2 separate regions of the Homo sapiens genome follow, and region 1 is linked to region 2. Evidence: promoter capture Hi-C in 16 types of primary human blood cells and fetal thymus (Javierre and others, 2016). All regions are on one chromosome and are shown on one strand. The core of a region is centred on a gene start or on the middle of the fragment in contact, and the rest is flanking DNA. Distances in the headings are between cores, read along the strand shown. Region 1 overlaps SLIT1 (slit guidance ligand 1). Region 2 holds the start of SLIT1 (slit guidance ligand 1).

The links. Contacts are between HindIII fragments. The CHiCAGO score rates a contact against its expected background, and 5 or more counts as called.
Region 1: a contact is called between a fragment that was not itself captured here and the fragment with the promoter of SLIT1 in region 2, in 3 of 17 cell types (M1 macrophages, M0 macrophages and M2 macrophages). The highest score is 7.4, in M1 macrophages.

The regions. Positions count from the first base shown.
Region 1 is chr10:97,053,370-97,057,197 of GRCh38, reverse strand. It overlaps SLIT1 (slit guidance ligand 1), which reads left to right. Exons shown (of 37, transcript NM_003061.3): 13 at 734-877. Among named protein-coding and RNA genes, the nearest start is that of SLIT1-AS1, 47 kb to the left of the region's middle. The HindIII fragment of the contact is 1,691 bases long and covers 1,176-2,866 here.
Region 2 is chr10:97,183,532-97,187,816 of GRCh38, reverse strand. It overlaps SLIT1 (slit guidance ligand 1), which reads left to right and starts at 1,858. Exons shown (of 37, transcript NM_003061.3): 1 at 1,858-2,339. The coding sequence starts at 2,143. The region is part of intron 11 of ARHGAP19-SLIT1 (ARHGAP19-SLIT1 readthrough (NMD candidate)); the gene reads left to right. RefSeq lists enhancers at 1,013-1,513, 1,514-2,014. The HindIII fragment of the contact is 4,998 bases long and covers 246-4,285 here.

The DNA.
Region 1 (3,828 bases), core at 772-3,271, 130 kb after region 2:
CCTGGGTGTCTTGGGTGGGACCCAGGGAAGGGCCAGCTTTCCTCTGGCCTGCTAGACTGTCCCTTTAGGCCTCTCTTGGGTATGGGACTCAATTGAGACAATGAGCTTGGAAGACAGGCAGACCCACTAGGGCTGAGAAAGTCTCCAGGGCTCTGCAGAGGCTAGAGAAGGAGGTAGAGGCAGCTTCAGAGCTGCTCACAGGATGCCAAAGCAGAGAGGCTCCTGAGACTCGGCCCGTGCTCCTGAGGAGCTTGGTGTGGCTGGGGACAGAGCTTTCTCCTGCAGGGGGGACACCCAGGCCAGCTCGGCCTCCTTGAACCATGAACTTTCAGGCAGGGATTGTCTCCCAGGGCTCAAGAGGCATAGAACACAAATGCTCCAACTCAGCTGCCTGGGGAACCCAATGGACCTCTGGGAAGGAGGAGGAGCCCCCCCCAAAAATGCCTTCACAAGGTGGCTCTCTGCTTTCCCGGAATCCCACAGGGCATCTCTAGCAGTTCTTGGAAAGAGAGACGAGTGGGTTGACCAAGATGTCCCTATGCATGGAGGAGGCAGTCGGAGTTCCGGGCCCCTCTCCGTGGGGCAGACATCCAGAGGGCAGATTCCCTGGGCCTGCTCCGATGGGCTCCTCCCTGTAATAACGCAGGCCGGGACTGAAGAAGGTGCCCAGGACCTGAGATGGGTCTCAGGTCGAGCCTCTCTCCTCACCACTTGGTCCTGGCTCTGCCCACAGGCTCCTGAATGCCAACAAGATCAACTGCATCCGGCCCGATGCCTTCCAGGACCTGCAGAACCTCTCACTGCTCTCCCTGTATGACAACAAGATCCAGAGCCTCGCCAAGGGCACTTTCACCTCCCTGCGGGCCATCCAGACTCTGTGAGTGCCCTGATGCCTTCTTCTTCTCCCCTCCCAGCAGGTGGGCCTGGGGGAGGTTGCAGCCTCCAGGGACAGGCAGCTCTCCGGCTCTGGGCTGCTGTGCTCACTGGGGGTGGCCTCTTACAGAGGAAGGACACAGACCTGGGTTAGACCGTCCTAGGTTCAAAGTCCACCTAGGCCTCTTATTGGCTGTGTGATTCTGGGCAGCTTCTCTGGGCCTCATTTTTATTTATCCGTAAGATGGGGATGCCTTCCCATAGGGTTGTTATGAGATTAAGGAGGATGTTTGTATGAAGCTTAGCTCATCACAAGTGCTTGATAAATGCTGCCTTTAGCTAACAATAATATTGATGGTGATGATGATGATAATATATCGCGCTGATTCTAAGACACATGTTGTTTCCACGTTAACAGCTCTGAAACTGGGATGCATGTTATAATCAGTGGTACATCACTTAGTTGGCAGCATTTTGTTCTTTATTGATAGTACAAAAAATAGTAGTGCCTCTTACAATTCATAATGTCAAATCAGATGAAATACGGTAATGACAATGGTGACTGTGAATAAAAAAATTAGAGAGCAATAAATCTGGTAATTTGTTGTAATATTTTATTGTGGAAAATTATAAGCAGATTAAGAGTAGTACTGTGGGCCGGGCATGGTGGCTCATGCCTCTAATCCCAACACTCTGGGAGGCTGAGGCAGGAGGATTGCTTGAGCCCAGGAGTTCAATACCAGCCTAGGTAACAGGGCTGGGCACCCCATCTCCACAAGAAATTTTTTTTTAAAAAGTAGCCAGGTATGATGGCACATACCTGTAGTCCCAGCTACCTGGGAGGCTAAAGTAGGATGATTGCTTGAGCCCAGGAGGTTCAGGCTACAGTGACATGTGGCCACACCCCCTGCACTCCCACCTGGGCAACGGAGAGACCCTGTTTCAAAAAAAAACAGAGTGCTATGTATGGTGAACCCCCAAGTTTTCATCACCCAGCTTCCAATCCTGTATAATTAATTCCTTAATATCATTGAGTATCTAGTTAGTGTTGAAATTTCCAAGTGTCTCTTACATGTTATGCAATTTTTTTGATTGTTTTTTGTTTTTTGAGCTGGAGTGTCGCTCTGTCACCTAGGCTGGAGTGCAATGGCACAGTCTCAGCTCACTGCAACCTCCACCTCCCAGGTTCAAGTGATTCTCCTGCCTCAGCCTCTGAAGTAGCTGGGATTACAGGCGCCCGTCACCACGCCTGGCTAATTTTTTGTATCTTTAATGGAGATGGGGTTTCACCATGTTGGCCAGACTGGTCTCAAACTCCTGACCTCGTGATCCACCTGCCTCGGCCTCCCAAAGTGCTGGGATTACAGATGTTAGCCACCACGCCCGGAATGTTATGCAATTTTTTAATAGTTTGAATCAGGATTTAAATAAAGCCTGTGCAATATAACTGGCTGATGTTGGTTTATGTTGGTTGATGTACCTCTTAAGTTGCTGTTTATCTATGTGTCCTCTCCATTTCTCTTTTCCTTGTAACTGATTTGTTGAAGACACTGCATCATTGGTTCTGTAGGGTCTAGACTTTGTTGATTGCTTCCCTGTGGTGTAGTTTCACATGTTCCTCTGTCTTCTCTGTATCCTGCAGATTGAAAATTGGATCTAGGAGCTCGGTCAGGTTCAGTTTTGATTGATTTATTTGGCAAGATGATTTTATAGATGGGATTGTGGACTTCCCGTCAGAAGGCAGACAGATGTCTGGCTGTCTCCCTTTTGTAATAAAAACAGCCATTGATCTCAGTGCTTGAACCCATTAATTCATTAGCAATCCTGAAATGGTGATTTTGAATTTGTATCAGTCTGTTTTTGTGTTACTATCAAGGAATACCAGAGACTAGGTAATCTATAAAGAAAAGAGGTTTACTTGGCTGACAGTTCCATGGGGTGTACACATACGGCACCAACATCTGCTTGGCTTCTGGTGAGGCCTCAGGAAGCTTACAATCATGGCAGAAGGCGAAGCAAGGGTAGGCACGTCACGTGACAAGAGGAGGAGCAAGAGAGGGAGGGGGAGTGCCATGCTCTTTTAAATAATCAGATCTTGCATGAGCTCAGAGTAAGAACTCACTCATTATCACAAGGGCAGCACCAAGCCATTCATGAGGGATCCACTCTTATGCCTAGTCTTGCTTCGCCTTCTGCCACGATTGTAAGCTTCCTGAGGCTCACCAGAAGCCGAGCGGTTGTTGGTGCCATACTCGTCCAGCCCACAGAACTCTCAGCCCAGTAAACCTCTTTTCTTTATAAATTACCTAGTCTCAGGTATTCCTTTATAGAAACACAAAAGCAGACTGATACAAATTCGACCAAACACCGAACACCGATCCGAACACCTCCCATCAGGCCCCGCCTCCAACACTGGGGATTACATTTCAACATGAGGTTTGGTGGGGACGAACATCCAAACCATATCAGAATTCTAACATTCTTTTTTCATTTCTAATGCAGTTGTGACTATGCTTTAAAACAGAATCCTTATATTTAACTGGAATGTTTCCACGTAAGGAAAATTCTCATCTGTTGTGTGGTTAAACTTAGGCAATTAAATGGTCCCCTTCATCTACATCTTTAATTCTGAGCCTGCAGTTAGGCAGGATGTGCTGACTTGTGGGTTCTGTGGTGTGCATTTAATGAGCATTAATTATTAATATTATTGTGTCCATTGTTGTCGCTGTAATCCCTGCCCCTGTCTATGCCAGGCAGTGCTCTTCATCAGATAACATCTACATGGGGTATTGGGATAGGTTCCAAACAGGCTGAGTAAAAGGTACAGCTCGTGACCCCTGGGGACTCTGCACATCACCAGAGATGTCAGCCACAAAGACAAACTCATTAAAGCCCACAAATTTGCCTGCAGCCCAACTCCTCCCAATTAATTTACTTATAGCCAGGGAGACAAAG
Region 2 (4,285 bases), core at 609-3,108:
CTAAGTGCCAGGTGCTGGGGTGTGTGTCTGGGTGAGCGAGTGAGGATGCCAGGGGGTGGGCAGGGGTGTGGAGAAGCAGCTGCAGGTACTAAGAGGGGATAAACAAAGCAGCGGGCATGGAGGAATGTCACTCTGAGGCTGCGGGGAGAGCATGGATAGAGGGGCTGGGGCCCCATGGAGCAGGAGCTGGTGAGCTGCAGGGCAGGGGCAGCCCTCTCAGACTCCGGCCTGGTTTGTGGGAAGCTTCCCTAATATCCCACCACACAGGCACCCCTGAGAAAGCCCTGCCCCCTGAGAAACTGAACTTATGCTCAAGAACCCACTTACCGGATGGAGGTCATGGACAGGGATGTGTGAAAACTTTAAAAGAACTGTCAAAAGCCCATAAAATCAGCCACCTAAATTGTAACATACTGTGCTATGACAGTAGAGAGACTGCAAAATTCTCATCAACATGGAAAAGAAAAGCAAAGAAAACGCCTGAGCCTTGGGTACCTGGTGGGTGATAAGGCTTCAACCTTGTGGAGTCTATCAACCTCCCCTATCCCCACCCTGCCCGACACTCTCCCCACCAAATGCGTCCATGCTGTGTCTGGACCCAGGCCGCTCCTGAGACGGGAGGTGCTTCTCGGGCTACCCAGCTGTGTCCTCTTGCCAAGCAGCCTCACGTCAAGGCCCCGACTGCTGGACACTGCCCCAGCGAGCCACAGCTGTCCTTGGCGTTGAGGAGATCTTTCGTCTTTTCTGGGGTTGAGGAGAATTCTCTCCCCACCTGGATGTCCCGTTCACACCCACGTCCACACATGCCTTACGGTGACGAAGGTCCCTACCCAGCCGGGTGTGAGGCCTGGGTCTGACGGGGCTGGCCTGTGGGGTTCTCTCCCAAGCAGGCCGCCCAGCGCTATGCCAGCCCTCTCTGTCTCCTTTGATGTCAAGATGGAATATTCATTTTCATCTGTTTCCACCTGTCAGAAATGGAGGAACGCTGGTGTGAGTGGAGGAAGACGTTTGCCAGATTTCCAAGTCCCCTTAATGTCTGTCCCTCTCTTCTACAACGGGGGAAGAAGCCCGTGTAACTGTATGGTACAAATACGCCCTGCTGAGCAAGTGTTCCAATCAGAGCCATTCTCATCCTGGGCATGCGGCTAGCTTGTTCCCCTCTGAGAAGTGGGTGCATTGAGGTAGGAAGGAGACTGTACTCCGCCTAGCGCTTTCGTGGACCCTCCCCCCCGACAAAGCTCCATCCTCAAAGTCCAGGCTAAGTAAGGTTGGTGGCTTGAGGATGCTACCTGGGGCACAGGCACAGGGTTTCCCTTAACCAAGAATTGACACAGCGAGTCGGGTGGGGCCGAGAGGCCGCTGCTGCCGTCGGGGGATGGGGGGAAACGGGTCTGACTCCCCGGGAAGGCGTCCAAGCGGCAAAATAAGATCTCCCTCCCACCCTGGACTAGCAGCTGGGGCCGCGGGTGCCGGGGTGCGTGCGTCTAAATGTGCGCATCCTCGCCGTGTGTGTGTGTGTGTGTGTGTGTGTGTGTGTGTGTGTGTGTGTACAGCCAGGACTTGGCGGGTCGAGTCACACCCCCTTCCCTCTTCTCCCATCCCCCGCAGCCCCGTGCCCGCTGACGGCGCCTCGGAGGTTCCACCTTTGAAACTGTAGGCGGCTTGCAGCCGCTGAGTGGTCGTCGGGAGAGGGGGGCTGCGGCGGGGGAGGGCGGGGAGGAGCCTGGCCCTGGATGTGTGCTTTTCGATTGATGGATGACTGCCGGGTGGGAGCGAGCGCGCGGGTGTGTGTGTGATCGTGTGTGTGTGTGTGGTGTGTGCGCAGGGTGCGTGCGCGCGCGGGGCCTGCCCATTTTCCTCCTCGCAGCAGTCAGTTGGGAGCTGGAGGGAGGGAGAGGGAGACGCAGGCGGCGAAACGGCAGAGGAGCCGAGCCCCCTCCGCCCAAGGCGCCCTCCCTCCGTCCGCGCACAGGCGCCGTCGCTTGGAGGAGCAAGGTGCCTCCCAGCCCGCAGGGGCGCCGCGCGCAAGCCCGCGGGCTCTTCGGTGGCTCTGCCCCGGGACTGCACCTGGAGGCGGCCCCGGACGGGGATGGTCAGCGGCTGCTGCCGTCTGGCTCGCGAGCGGGACGCTGTGAGGGCACCATGGCGCTGACTCCCGGGTGGGGGTCCTCGGCGGGGCCGGTCCGGCCGGAGCTCTGGCTGCTGCTGTGGGCAGCCGCGTGGCGCCTGGGTGCCTCGGCGTGCCCCGCCCTCTGCACCTGCACCGGAACCACGGTGGACTGCCACGGCACGGGGCTGCAGGCCATTCCCAAGAATATACCTCGGAACACCGAGCGCCTGTGAGTATGGTCCCCGCCCCTGGCTCCCTGGCTCCGAGGTTGCCCTCCCACCCAGACGCAATTCCGGACTTGGGGGTGGGGGCAGGACCATTGGGGCCCGTCCGGGCTCCGCAGCCCACAGACGGGTCAGTGCCTGCCGGGGTCTTTCCCGAGCCAGGAGCCAGGAGCGCCGTGGTTTCCCCATCCCTGGGATTCAAAGGGCCCTCGGCGGGGTTGTCAGCTTCCGTCCTCACACCTGCACCCTGCACCCTGCACTCCGCACCCTCAGGCCCTCCTCACTGCGCCAGCGCTTTATTCCTCCAGGGTGCCTGCGAACTGGTGTCAGAAAGCCTTCCTTGCACCCAGGAGGGACACTTCCCACACTCGCCAAGCACAATGTCTCCTTTTGGGCACATGGGGCTACGGCCGCGTTCTGAGCCAGCTGCGCAGATTCCCGCTCCCAGAGCTTGCTCCTGACGAAGGGCAGCAGGGTGGGATGGAGGCGAAGTTTCTGGTCTGCCCCTTCTTCTCCATTGTTTGCCCCAGAGCCTTGAGAATTCTTCCCCTGCAGGTGCCACGCGTTGGTCCCCTACTCACCCGCCTCCCTCCACACCCAGCCATCCCCAACACAGGCAGACAATGGGACCTGAGGGCTTTGGGTATGGGGCTTGGGGTATGTAACATTCAGCACCCGAAAAGGGGCAGGTGTGTCTTGGATGGAGAACCCGGTGGATAATGCCAAGAAGTCAGGAGCTTGGAGAGGGGGGCCCAAGGTTAAAGATATTGACCATGACAAGTAATAAAAAAATAGCATTTCTCTTCCCCTGTTCTGTCTCACTTGTGAATTCTTGAGGAAACTTGATCCTTTTCTTTTCTAGACCCAGTAAGCTAGTAGAATGTGTGTGTGTGTGTTTGGGTGTGTTTGAGTGTGTGTATTTACAGACCTTTATACTTTGTTTTCTGTGACTCTCCTGCAGAATGTGTTTCTGTGTGAATTCCTAGTATTAAGGGGCCACCTTAATAGCGTGAGGCCATGAGAGTCCCCGTAATGGGCTGTGTGTGTGTAGATTTTGGTCACATGCAGGGCCTTTGTACTGCTCGCAGAGGTGACTACACCAGGAGATTTTTGAACAGGGCTTTGGAGAAGGCTGCTGGCTCCTTTGAAACCTACCTACTCCTCCTTCCCACACTCCTCGGTGACTGCAGTGGCTCTCAGGAAAGGTGTGCATATTTTGATAACTTTCGAGCACATTTTCATGGCCCCCAGCTGGTCAGAGACAGAAATCTGACCCTGAGGAGAGCTGTCTCCCGAATCAGACTCTGTACCAAGGCCAGCAATTAGTGAGCACACATTTGCCCCAGACTCTTCTTGGCTGCATCTGAAAAATTCCCGTGGAGGTTTTAGAGAATTTGCAATCTAGATGCAATCTAGATGGGAAGTGTGTGTGTGTGTGTGTGTGTGTGTGTGTGTGTGTGTGTGGTGCATGTGTATGTGTGTGTGTGAATGCTTGTGTGTTACAGGGCTGGGGAGAGGTGGTACCAAACTGAGTTTCTGTGGGCAGCGTGTGCATTATCCTGTGTGGACCCAGAGAGGATCTGAGGGTCAGAAATCTGTCCAGAGGACCCCCGCAGTGGCCTGGTCACCCTCCATGCCTGTCCCCTCTGTACCTGCTCCCTGCTCCCCTTGCCTTGTCCACTGGAGTTTCTCCTGAAGCTGCTACCCTGGTTGCAGCCTAGATCTAAGACACATTAGCCCTTCTTCTTTGCTTTTGAATCTTGAGTCTTAAAGTCATCTCCTCCCTCTTTACTCTCTCACCACCTTTAGTGTTTAAGACTTCCATGAACTCTTTAGCTCTTTTGTGATCAGAGTGAGATGAAAATGAAATTTCCTAGTACAGAGGAAAGAGGTGGCATTCTGGGAGCTATACTGCCTGGTTCCCCAGCTCTGTCACCTATTAGCTGTGTGA